Regions from separate parts of the Homo sapiens genome. Here regions 2 and 3 are each linked to region 1. The links are contacts of gene promoters, found by promoter capture Hi-C in human tissues and cell types (Jung and others, 2019). All regions are on one chromosome and are shown on one strand. Each heading gives the region's core, a stretch centred on a gene start or on the middle of the fragment in contact. The rest is flanking DNA. Distances are from core to core; before and after follow the strand shown. Region 1 holds the start of SLC6A18 (solute carrier family 6 member 18). Region 2 has its middle 57 kb from the start of LPCAT1. Region 3 holds the start of LOC124900931 (a long non-coding RNA gene).

The links. Contacts are between HindIII fragments. The study calls those that stand out against the background at their distance.
Region 2: a fragment that was not itself captured here is called in contact with the fragment with the promoter of SLC6A18 in region 1 in 4 of the 25 tissues and cell types used here (H1 embryonic stem cells, dorsolateral prefrontal cortex, liver and 1 more).
Region 3: a contact is called between a fragment that was not itself captured here and the fragment with the promoter of SLC6A18 in region 1, in 4 of the 25 tissues and cell types used here (IMR-90 fibroblasts, heart left ventricle, neural progenitor cells and 1 more).

What each region holds. Positions count from the first base shown.
Region 1 is chr5:1,223,495-1,227,558 of GRCh38, reverse strand. SLC6A18 (solute carrier family 6 member 18) reads right to left here and starts at 2,178. Exons shown (of 12, transcript NM_182632.3): 1 at 1,922-2,178. The coding sequence starts at 2,081. SLC6A19 (solute carrier family 6 member 19) reads right to left here. Exons shown (of 12, transcript NM_001003841.3): 12 at 2,448-4,064. RefSeq lists an enhancer at 1,242-1,784. The HindIII fragment of the contact is 11,488 bases long and covers 1-4,064 here.
Region 2 is chr5:1,578,716-1,582,779 of GRCh38, reverse strand. It overlaps the pseudogene SDHAP3. Among named protein-coding and RNA genes, the nearest start is that of LPCAT1, 57 kb to the right of the region's middle. The HindIII fragment of the contact is 4,730 bases long and covers 1-4,064 here.
Region 3 is chr5:963,332-967,395 of GRCh38, reverse strand. LOC124900931 (a long non-coding RNA gene) reads left to right here and starts at 3,235. Exons shown (of 2, transcript XR_007058676.1): 1 at 3,235-3,297. RefSeq lists enhancers at 1,559-2,060, 3,647-3,806. The HindIII fragment of the contact is 5,091 bases long and covers 1-4,064 here.

The DNA of each region.
Region 1 (4,064 bases), core at 929-3,428:
TTATATCTTGTTTTCAAAATCATCAATGAGTGATCCTCACAGCGAGACAAAGTGAAGGGCATGTTCACACACAGGGTGAGAATGCTGATGGCACGGCCCTTAGGAAGTGTGTGAGTTAAATAAACTTGGATGTTTCATGACATGCAACCCGGTGGCTTGCATCAGGAGATTGATGGTAGAGTCGTTCATGAGTGGAGCAGCCCTGAAGTCCCCGCGCAGCTGGCGGGCAGGGCTGTTCTCCCTCCTCAGCAGCACCCCAGGTGGGGGCCTCCCCAGCTTTGCCCCAGCGTGGAGCAGCTGAGTTTAAGGGAGGCTAGTGCCAGACACTTCCAGTACACTGCAGGCGCTTAGCAATGGTAACTGGGTTTCGGTGGGCAAGGCATCGGCGGGCAAGGCATCGGCGGGCAAGTCATCGGCGGGCAAGGCATCGACGGGCAAGGCGTCGGCGGGCAAGGCGTCGGCGGGCAAGGCGTCGGCGGGCAAGGGGTCGGCGGGCAAGGTGTCGGCGGGCAAGGCGTCGGCGGGCAAGGCGTTGGGCGCGTCGGCGGGCAAGGCATCGGTGGGCAAGGCATCGGTGGGCAAGGCGTCGGTGGGCAAGGCGTTGGGCAAGGCATCAGCAGGAAAGGCATCGGTGGGCAAGGCATTGGCGAACAAGGCGTTGGTGGGTAAAGCGTTGGCCGGCATTTCCAGCTCTGCGTGAAGCCTGCTGCCCCCACAACCTTGCATGCTCTGGTGACTCTTAGCAGATCGAGCCGCAGCACAGGCAGCGAGGGCCCCGGGAGCCAGGGACGCCTCTGCCCTTGGGCTTTGGTGCTTTCAGAAATGCCTTCAAAGGGACTCTCATGATGAGAAGATCCAAGGCCCAATGCACCCTCTCCAGCCCCAAAGCCCCAAAGAGACCCCAGTGCCCCGAGGGTGGCAGTGACGGGTGTTTCTTTTTGTTTTTTCCATTTGTGCGCATTTCCTGCATTTTCTGCCTGTTGAGAATCTTTTCTTAAGCAGGAGGAAAAACACTTTAAAGGAGTAACCTTATAACAAGGGATAGTTGTGCGGGGCTCTCAGGGAAGGAGCTGAGGGCCCGGGGAACAGGCTGACCAAGCAGCCCGGCCTGGCCTGAGGAGGACCCTGCGGCCTGGGAAGCCCCTGCCCGTGTTGCCTGGGGAAGACCTGGGTGTCCATGCGTGATGTTGTACGTCGGCTCCCTGAGAGCAGTGATTCATGCCTGTCCCTACATCCTGTGTCGCCACATGGAGAGCAGAGTGTGACCCCTGCATGAAGAGAAGCAGGCACAGGGTGAGGGGAGGCTCGAGGTGCGTGGGAGCCTATTTCAGTCACCAATGCACTTCTGGGGGTGGTGAGTCCAAGGTCACTAAAGTCACCCAGACAGTTCTGAACATCCTGGCACCCCCCACAGGGCTCTCCCAGAGAACCAAAGCCAGGGAGGCGAGGGGTGGGCCCCCAAATTCCTGCAAAGAACCTCGGAGAAGGGCACCTGAGCACATGTCTGGACACACCAAGGCTGTGGTGAGGAAACCCAGAGCGGATTGTGTGTTCTTTAAAGAACTGACGACATTCAGATGGAAGAGCGCTCACTGTTTGTAGGGTGTGTGTGTCGGGCAGGGCGGCCCATTCAACCTGACGCCTGGCAGGAAGCTGCCCTGAGGTCCCGGAAGACCATAGTGGACCCCGAGGGGACTGGATCCTCCGTGCTGTGGGCAGTGGTGAAGCTGCCCTGAGGTCCCAGAAGACTGCAGGTGGGCCCTGAGGGGACTGACTCTGCCGTGGGCAATGGTGCACCCTGGTTTCCAGGAGGAGTGACTCTGCCCAAGCACTGGGGATGCGTGGCAGGCGCCTGGCAGGTCAGGGTGGAGACGGCCTCCCCTGCTTAGGGGTCTGCCCCAGGACGCAGGTGGGTGCTTACCTCCTCCATAGGTCTGGCACAGGTATGGGAACCGCCAAATGTTCCCCAGTCCCACGGCAAACCCAGTGCAGCTCAGGAGGTACTGGGCCTTGTTGTCCCACTTGGGCCTCTCATCCCCGAGGTCGCAGGCGGCCGGGTCCGGTTCTGGGGCATGAGCCATGGTGACTGAGTGCCCCAGGCTTCAGGGCAAGGGTGGTGCCTCACTCCACACCCAGCACTAGAGAGCCGTCTCCAGCCTCTGCCGACGTTTGGAAACCACAAGCAGCCCCACTGCAGTTGTATTTATTCATTTCTTTAAAGGAAAACCAGTGGAGTGCCGTTAATGGGTAACTCAGGTCCAGGCCCTGGCTCTGACGCCAGGGTCCTTCCCTGGCACCCACGTCCTCTGCTCCTTCTCGCATGCTCTGTGTTCCAGGCAAACGCCGGGCCTGGCACCACCCCCAGCACCATGAGGACCGTTTGCAAGGACAGCCTCAAGTTTTTTTGTTGCAGACACCAGGATTCCCAAGACTGAGGCATATTTTAATCGTTTTAAATTTCTTATGTTTTATTTAACCATTTGATCTTGAGATACTTATAGATTGTCACTCTGTCACTGTCAGAAACAACTCAGATCAGATCGCATGCACCCGAAGCCCGGATTCCCGCAGGGATCCTCTCAGCTGCTCTTGGGAGGCCGGGGGCTGCCCTCACACCCACTGCTGCCCTCGGGCCGCTGGGCAGGACAGGGTGACAGGCACCCACCGTGCGTGGGGGCAGAGGGCTGAGTCCTCTCCTGTGCTGGGGGCACCCCTGTCCATGGGTGGAGGGTTGATGAGTTGACGCCGGGTGAGTTCAGCTCTAAGGAGCTCCCCACAGTGCTCCCTGGACTCTGGGGCTCCTCCTTGCAGATGCTCCCGCCACGGACAGGCCAAGGGCCCCCAGGCCCGCAATTGCCCCATTCCACTGGACACTGCACCCCTCAACCGTGTGGCCACAACTCCAAATCCATGAGTCCCAGGGCAGGGGCCCAGGTGGACACATTTTTGGAAGGTTCTTATTTGAGTGAGAGGAAGTGTGAGGGAAGAAGATGAGAAGAGCTGGTTGGTCCCCATTGTGAGGCCACAGGCCTGGGCCATGGCCTCTTCGGAGCAAGCCCCCAAAGCCAGACCCCCCAGGAGGAGGCAGGAGCTGGACCTGCCGTCCCCACCATCCCGTCTGAGGTCACTGGCTCACTCATCCCTCTACGTCTGGACAACAGTAACTTCTAGGGTGAGCATACTCAATAGAAGGGATTTATTTAGAAATGTACACTTTATGCCCATAAAGCCTGCATTTCTACCACATTTACAGAGACATTGAAACCTATGAAACAACGCATGAATCAGGAGATGTAGATGAGATGGGAGCTCCCGCCCAGGGTCCTATGGCAGGCACACCAGGGTACACCAATGGATGCCAGGGCACATCAGTGCACACCTGTGCATGCCAGGGTACACCAATGCACACCTGTGCACGCCTGGCAGGGCCTCCTGGGCAGATGCCACAGGGCAGCATATTAATGGGGCACTGATGGAAATTTTCTCGATCCAGGGCCAAAGAGCAGGAAAAGATGAGGTGAGACCCTGTTGAAGCCATCAGCAGGCGAGCCCCTCGGTGGCATCACAGCCGGGGGCAGAGGCTGTGATATGTCCCCCCACCTCTGCTGCTGTGGAGTCTTGCGCATCCCAGGGCCCAGTGACAGTCAGCAGGGTGAAAGGGGCTGGTAGGGGACTCAGTGTGTGCAGTCACTGCTGGATGGGGTGCTGGAAGGGACGATTGTGACCAGGTTTCTGTGGGTGGAACATCATACTGGCACACACCAGGCTTTCAGTCCTGCCTGTAGGAATTCTCAGAACATCAGTTTAATGTAAGCGTCCAGATTCTTCTATGGAAAGCAGAGGTGACCTGTCCGTAGGAACTCTCAGAACACCAGTTTAATGTAAGCATCCAGATTCTTCCATGCAAAGCGGAGGTGACCTGTCCGTAGGAACTCTCAGAACACCAGTTTAATGTAAGCATCCAGATTCTTCCGTGCAAAGCGGAGGTGACCTGTCCGTGGAAGCAGATGTCCCAAGTGCCGACTGCCTTTGGCTGCGATGGAATGTTGAACCCCAATGGGGGC
Region 2 (4,064 bases), core at 561-3,060, 360 kb before region 1:
CTATTCAACCAATTATAACTTCTGTACCTATAAATTTATGGGGAAGAGATTTATTACAACAATGGGGAGCACAAGTTCTAATTCCAGAGCAATTATATAGCCCTCAAAGTCAGCATATGATGCATGAAATGGGGTATGTCCCTGGTATGGGACTAGGAAAAAATTTGCAAGGTTTGAAAGAACCACTTCAAGTGGAAAGACAGTTCCTGCCAAGGTTTAGGATATTATTCTTGATGGCAGCCATTGTTAAGCTTCCAGAACCTATACCTTTAAAATGGTTAACATATAAGCCAATTTGGATGGAACAATGGCCGCTGAGTAAAGAGAAACTGGAGGCTTTAGAGGACTTAGTTAATGAACAATTAGAAAAGGGACACATAGCTCCAACATTTTCCCCTTGGAATTCTTCAATTTTCGTAATTAAGAAAAAATCAGGTAAATGGAGAATGTTAACTGACTTAAGAGCCATTAATTCAGTTATACAACCTATGGGGACATTACAGCCAGGATTGCCTTCTCCTGCTATGATTCCAAAAAATTGGCCTTTAATAGTCATAGATTTAAAAGACTGTTTCTTTACTATCCCCTTAGCTGAGCAAGACTGTGAACGGTTTGCATTTACAATTCCTGCAGTAAACAACCTGCAGCCTGCTAAGCGTTTTCATTGGAAAGTGTTGCCACAAGGCACGTTAAACAGTCCAACGATTTGCCGGATTTGTGTAGGGCAAGCAATTGAACCTCCTCGTAAAACATTTTCACTGTGTTACATTATTCATTATATGAATGATATACTTTGTGCTGCCCCTACTCAAGAAATATTACTCCAGTGTTATGATCACTTGCAAAATTCAATTTCTGGTGCTGGTTAAATTATAGCTCCTGACAAAATTCAGATTACTACTCCTTACTCCTACTTGGGAACCTTAGTAAATGACACTACCATTGTGCCACAGAAAGTAGCCATACGTAGGGATCAATTGAAAACATTAAATGACTTTCAAAAATTACTAGGGGACATTAACTGGATACAACCTGCTCTAGGCATTCCTACCTATGCCATGAGTAATCTGTTTTCTATCCTTAGAGGAGATCCTAGTCTCACCAGCCCTCGGTAATTAACAAGAGAAGCTGAGGCAGAGCTGCAGCTAATCGAAAAGCAAGTCCATAAAGCCCAAATAAATAGAATCGATCCAGAGAAGACTCGAGCTGCAGCTGATCGAAAAGCAAGGCCATAAAGCCCAAATAAATAGAAACGATCCAGAGAAGACTCGAGCTGCAGCTGATCGAAAAGCAAGGCCATAAAGCCCAAATAAATAGAAATGATCCAGAGAAGACTCGAGCTGCATCTCATCAAAAAGCAAGGACATAAAGCCCAAATCAATAGAATCGATGCAGAGAAGACTCAAGCTGCAGCTGATCAAAAAGCAAGGCCATAAAGCCCAAATAAATAGAATCGATCCAGAGAAGACTTGAGCTGCAGCTGATCGAAAAGCAAGGCCATAAAGCCCAAATCAATAGAATCGATCCAGAGAAGACTCGAGCTGCAGCTCATTGAAAAGCAAGGCCATAAAGCTCAAATCAATAGAATCGATCCAGAGAAGACTCGAGCTGCAGCTGATCGAAAAACAAGGCCATAAAGCCCAAATAAATAGAATAGATCCAGAGAAGACTCGAGCTGCAGCTGATCAAAAAGCAAGGCCATAAAGCCCAAATAAATGGAATAGATCCAGAGAAGACTCGAGCTGCAGCTGATCGAAAAGCAAGGCCATAAAACTCAAATCAATAGAATAGATGCAGAGAAAACTCGAGCTGCAGCTGATCAAAAAGCAAGGCCATAAAGCCCAAATGAATAGAATTGATCCAGAGAAGACTCGAGCTGCAGCTGATTGAAAAGCAAGGCCATAAAGCCCAAATCAATAGAATAGATCCAGAGAAGACTCGAGATGCAGCTGATCTAAAAGCAAGTCCATAAAGCCCAAATAAATAGAATAGATCCAGAGAAGACTCTAGATTTGCTAATTTTTCCAACTCCACATTCAGCTACTGGTGTTATTGTTCAAGAGCAAGATCTTGTAGAATGGCTTTTTCTTCCACATACTAATTCATGGCCTCTAACTCCTTATTTGGATCAAATTGCTACTATGATAGGAAATGGGAGAACTCGGATTGTTAAATTACATGGATATGATCCTGAAAAAATTGTCCCTCTCACGAAGGCACAAATACAGCAAGATTTTATAAATAGTCTTACTTGGCAAACCCATTTAGCTGACTTTTTGGGTATTCTCGATAATCATTTTCCTAAAATGAAACTGTTTCAATTTTTGAAATTAACTAATTGTATTCTCCCTAAAATAACTAAACCAATTGAACGTGTGGAGAATGTTTTTACAGATGGGTCTAGTAATGGTAAAGCTTCTTACTCTGGCTCGAAAGGTAAAGTTTTCCAGACACCCTATGCTTCAGCTCAAAAAACGGAGCTTGTAGCTGTAATTGAGGTATTGACTGCTTTTAATATGCCTATTAATGTGATTTCTGATTCTTCATATGTGGTTCATTCGACACAATTAATTGAAAATGCTGAGTTACGATTTCATACAGATGAACAACTGATGACTTTATTTATGCAATTGCAAACAGCAGTTAGGAGTAGAATGCACCCTTTTTACATCACTCACATTAGGGCTCATACACCTCTTCCAGGACCTTTGACTGCAGGGAATCAAATGGCTGATCGCCTAGTTGCTACTGCAATATCTAATGCTGGACACTTTCACAATTTAACCCGTGTTAATACCTCTGGTCTCAAACGCAGATACAGCAGTACCTGGAAAGAAGCTAAAGCTATTATCCAGCGATGCCCAACTTGCCAAATGGTACATTCCTCATCTTTTACAGGAGGAGTTAATCCTCGAGGATTGGAACCTAATTCTCAAGCTCTAGCTAAATTTTTCTCTATACGGAATATTAAACACATTACTGATATCCCATATAATTCTGAAGGACAAGCCATAGTGGAAAGAATGAATCTCTCCCTGAAACAGCAGTTGCAGAAGCAAAAGGGGGAAAACAGGTACTACAGGACACCCCATAAGCAATTGAATCGCATTATTAACTTTAAATTTTTTGAGCCTGCCTAAAGGCCGGATCTTATCAGCAGCTGAACAGCATCTACAGAAACCAGCTGCAAAGACAGAAGCAGAACAACTGGTTTGGTGGAGAGACCTGATAACAGAAAGTTGGGAAATAGGTAAAATAATAACTTGGGGTAGAGGTTATGCTTATGTTTCTCCAGGACTGAACCATCAAGACACCTGAAACCTTATCATGAGCGAATGCTGAGGAAGAGATTCCGGGAGGATCCCGAGGACCCCCCCAGTTGCAGCCATGTCAAGACTGATGCTGAGGAGGACCCCAACTGTCACGAGCAACACCCGTCAAACACAGCCATCCACCTGAGGTCAGATCAAGAAGCTGTCACAGATGGCAGAAGAAAACCTGAGGTAAGTGGGACAACCAGTCAAAATGAGTAATTTAATGGTAGCTATGATAGTGGTGATCACCATTGCCATGAGTATTCCTTCAACAAGGGCTGACACAGAGAACAATTATACTTACTGGGCATATTTATCAATCTTGGCTGGCAAGAATGCCTGGATGTAATCACTCTATGACACAGTTACACATGCTTTCTGATCTCAGTATTTACCATGATAAATCTGCTCCTATAATTGAGGCATACCGCCCTCAAAAACCTATCTGTAAACAGGATTGGACCCAGTCAGAGAAAATGAACGTACATGTTTGGGAAGATTGCATTGCAGAACAGGCAGGGGTGCTGGCAACGATTCCTATGGAATCATTATTGATTGATCCCCTACGGGGATGTTTAGCTTGAATTGCACCTCTCAGTCTGTGTGCCACGGCCCCACTATGTTCAGCTGGTCTGAACAAAATGGTCAGATGGTAGAAATGATAAGAAATACGGCAAGAATTCCTATTATCTGGAACCATGGCGGTGTAGTGGCACCTCAACCTCAAATGATATGGCCCTTTGTAGGAGC
Region 3 (4,064 bases), core at 1,041-3,540, 260 kb after region 1:
AGCAGCAATGAGCACAGTTAGTGCCCTGACCTTGGTCTCTAAAGCTCATTCTCCAGTAAAAAGAGCAGGGTTCCTTGGAGAAATGATGGATTCCAGGGCTGGGGGAAAAACCGGGGCAGCCTGGGGTTATGCTGGAAAGCGAGAAAGTGCTCCCGAAGGATGGGAGGGTCCCAAGGGCCCGCCTGGAAAAGCCCAGTGGCCAGAGCTGGGTAAATTTTAGCAACTAAGTAAATAATGACAGTGTGGGATGATCATCCAAAGCATAAATATGCACAAGTCCACATGAAGGCACACGAGTGATTGAATAAATCAGTGAGGGGAGGGCGGTCCTTCCTTCAGAGGAATTCCAGCAGAGTAGTGAGGAAACAAATCATCTCAGAACACCACAGTAGTAATTGTTGCAGACAAAACCCACCAACCCATGCTAAAATTAGCAGAAAAGACTTTGAGGAGAAATAGGATACTCTTGTAGTCTCAAAGTATCTTCCCTGAGAGGCCAAGGCAGGTAGATCATCTGAGCTCAGGAGTTTGAGAGAAGCTTGGGCAACACGGTGAAATCCTGTCTCTAAAAAAATACAAAAATTACCTGGGCGCAGTGGCACACACCTGTAGTCCCAGCTACTTGGGAGGCTGAGCGAGTGGATTGCTTGAGCCCGGGAGGTAGAGGTTGCCGTGAGCTAAAATTGCACGACCGCACTCCAGCCTGAGGGACAGAGAGAGACCCCATCTCAAAATAAGTAAATACAAATAAATAAATTACAAATGAAGAATAGTAACGTTACAGTGGGGGAAGCCAGCAGATCCCACCAGAACCAGGTGACCAGGGCCAAAACAACCCATAATGAGGCAAAGCATAGGGCCCGTGAGTCACTACTGCGGACGCTGAGCAGGGTATGGGGCTTCTGCCAGTTTCTTGGCACAGACACATAACTTCGATCCAGACATGATAAAATAGCAAACTCAAACTGAGGGCTGTTCTTCAAAACACCCAGCCAGTGCTCTTCCAAGTGGCAAGGCCATGGGAGGCAAGGAAACACGGGGCCTGCCGTGGGCTGGAGCCTACAGCGAGATGACACCTGCGTGCTCATGGAACTCAGTGTTGTTTCTAAAGCAGGAGGTGGATGTTACCAGAAACTGGAGGAATCTGAATCAAGCTACTGTGTAGTTAATTGCCCCGTGTTAATTCTTAGCCTCAATCCTTGTGGTCAAGGTCGGGTATGCAAGGTGCTGACACGGGAGGAAGCTGCCTGAAGGGGGCGGGGACTCCTGGACGATCTTGGCAACTCTTCCATAAGTCTAACGTTATTTCAGAAAAAAAAGTGTAGTGACATAGCTTAACAAAAAATAAGTGTAAAAAAGCTGAAAAGCAACAGTTAATCCTACGTGAGAGACAACGATGGTTGACTTTCTATACTTGGTGTTTCCCCAAGAAAGAAGCCCCTGGATGCCAGGGTCCCTCCCACTCTACACGTCAGCACGAGGCCGCGGTTCGCTCCCATCATCCGGTTCTAGATGTCAGCACGAGGCCGCGGCTCGCACCTGTCATCTGGGAGTTTCTCCCTCCCCTCCTGCCCACAGGACAACTTCTACTTCTCCTTTGGAATTTCTGAACACAGGAGGCCCTTCTCGGAAGCTCAGCTCTGCCTTCGCCCGCCAGGGCTGTTTCTCCCCTCGAGCCTCTGTCTCCACACCTGTGAAACGGGACGATAAGGGCCCCTTCATGGTGCGGAGGGAGGGCTAAGTTCATAAACGCGTGCAAACGAGGTGAGGACTGGCCGGCACGTAGAGACCCCGTGATGGCTGTCGGCCACCAAACAGACATTCTCCGTGCTCTTCATGCTCTTGCTTATGAGGAGAGATGCTGTGAAGATAAGTTTAAAAACGGCCATGCCATGACAGTTCACAAATAATATTATTCCCTCTGCGAATGCCCTTACCTTCTCTGATGACACTTGTTTCCTATCAACATCGATTTCTGTTGGCTTTCATGCCACCCTCTCTGAATGAGAATTGGGAAGACTCCAATGGCTGTTTTTAACCCCATATTTTTCTGTTCTGTAAACTTCTGTTCATTGCCAGGCTTTGTATCTTCCTTCTTTTAAAAGCGAAAGTGTCCTTTCTCTTCTTGTTTGGAACCTAGAATTGTGTATCGATGCATTTTTGGTGATTTCCCAATAACTAGCTGTGATCCTGCTCCACAGAGCCCTAATGCTTGAGCTCAAACTGTCCGAACCCACACTGCACTCCTTGGAGAAAATGAATGCAGCCTGAATTCTGCTGCTGAGAGTGCCTGGCCGTCCTGGTGGTCACTGACTCACTGGGGTCTGGCCGTCCTGGCAGCTCCTCAGGTCACCGGACTCTGGGGAGGCACCGTGCTGGTTCTGCCTGTGCCTGGTGGGACCCCCTGGTTCCCGGCACTGTCTGGGCCTCGTTCTGAGAGATGACTCCTTCTCACCATTGGTCACCAGACCTGGGCCCTCGGCCACTCGTGGCGTGGCTGAGATTTCAGGTCTCAGAGGACTGTCACCCCCTTCCTCCTATTCAATTTCTGCATGAAGTCTCTAAATCAATAACAGAGAAGGGGAGAGGAAAAAGGAAAGAAAAACTCCCACCTAATGGCCATTTTCAGAGCAGCCGCAGAACCATGTGACACAGCTGACCGAGGCAGCATTGCAGATACATTTGTGTGCCTGCAGATCTCAGGTACACGGACCCGTCTCCATGCTCAGGGGGCCTCTAAAGGGGGTGCAGGCTTTGGGGGCAGAGCAGAGGGGTGTAGGACTCTGGGGAGGCCACGACCACTGAGGGAAGGACCTTGCTATCTCACAAGGCCGAATCCTCCCCAAGGTGGCTGCCGTCTCCCTGGACCCTGCGTTCTGCACCCCCGGGAGGTAGGGAGTTGGATCTCGTACCAACGATGAATGCGTGGACACGTGTGGATGCCGTCCGCTTCCCAGAGTCCCCAGCCGGGCTCCCCAGGGCTCTGCGGGACCCTCTTCCATGCACCTGTGCTGTTTGCTCTCAGGTGGCTGCAAGCAAGTCCCTTTTCTCAGCCAGGCAGGAGGGAGTGGAGGAAGGGCCTGTGTGTCTCCTCAGTTTCAAAGAAACTCCCACGGCAGAGCGTGCTCTTGAACTAAAGCTTGAATGAATCAGAAACATCTGGGCTGTTTTTTCTGTGCTTAAGATACAGGAAACAGACCCATCCAAAGCCGTTTGGGGTTTTATCAAGGGGTCATTTAAGATGCAGAGCAACTTGAAATCGCCCATCTGTTGGAGAGCCGTGCGTGCTGACAGAGGGTAAGAAACTACAGCCCGCGCAGCTGCGGTCTTCATGTGGTCGCTGCACGCAAGGGTTTGCCGTTATCTGTTGCTTCTGAAGGCAAGGGTGAGGGGAGCGGAACTGGGTGTTGCCTGGTTCTGCCGTCAGACCAGGCACTGGGGAGGGAGTCCTGTGGGGAGGTGGGGCCAGGCCTTGTCTCTGTGACAGTGAACGTCCCTGTCCATGTTGGTGTTTCTCAGACAAGCCACCTCCTTCCACCCCCACGGTGGTGCAAGGGGAGGCTTTAGTCCAGGATAACAAATTCTGAACCAGCTGCTGCGTCTGGAGCCCCTGAGGGCTTATGCACTGGTGACCAGGGAGTTTCCTGGCTTATCACATCCGAGGCCGACTTTCGGGCTACAGAGGGGCGTGTGAGCCCCTGGAGTAGACAGAGGAACTGCTTCTCTGCCAGGCGCTGTGTTGAGATGAGAGGGAGGGCAGGTCCTTCGGCTTCTGAAACATGAAACAACCCCACACCTAGGGCAGGGCGTGCAATGCCACCATGGCCTGGAAGACCCAAGAGTGATGAGTGCTGAGCACAGGCCAGGCCCGGGGCTGTCACGGGCAGAGCCACTGGCCCGGCGTGCAGGTGGGAAGGAGGTCTCGGTAACTAAGCATTCGCATGATTCTGTCCTCTGAGGACTGGGGCAGGTGCTTCCTCTACCTCCCAGCAGCCTCCCTAATTCCAGAAGAATAAGAACAGGGGAGAGGAAGCCAGTGCAAGGGCTCCCACCTGCTCCCTCCA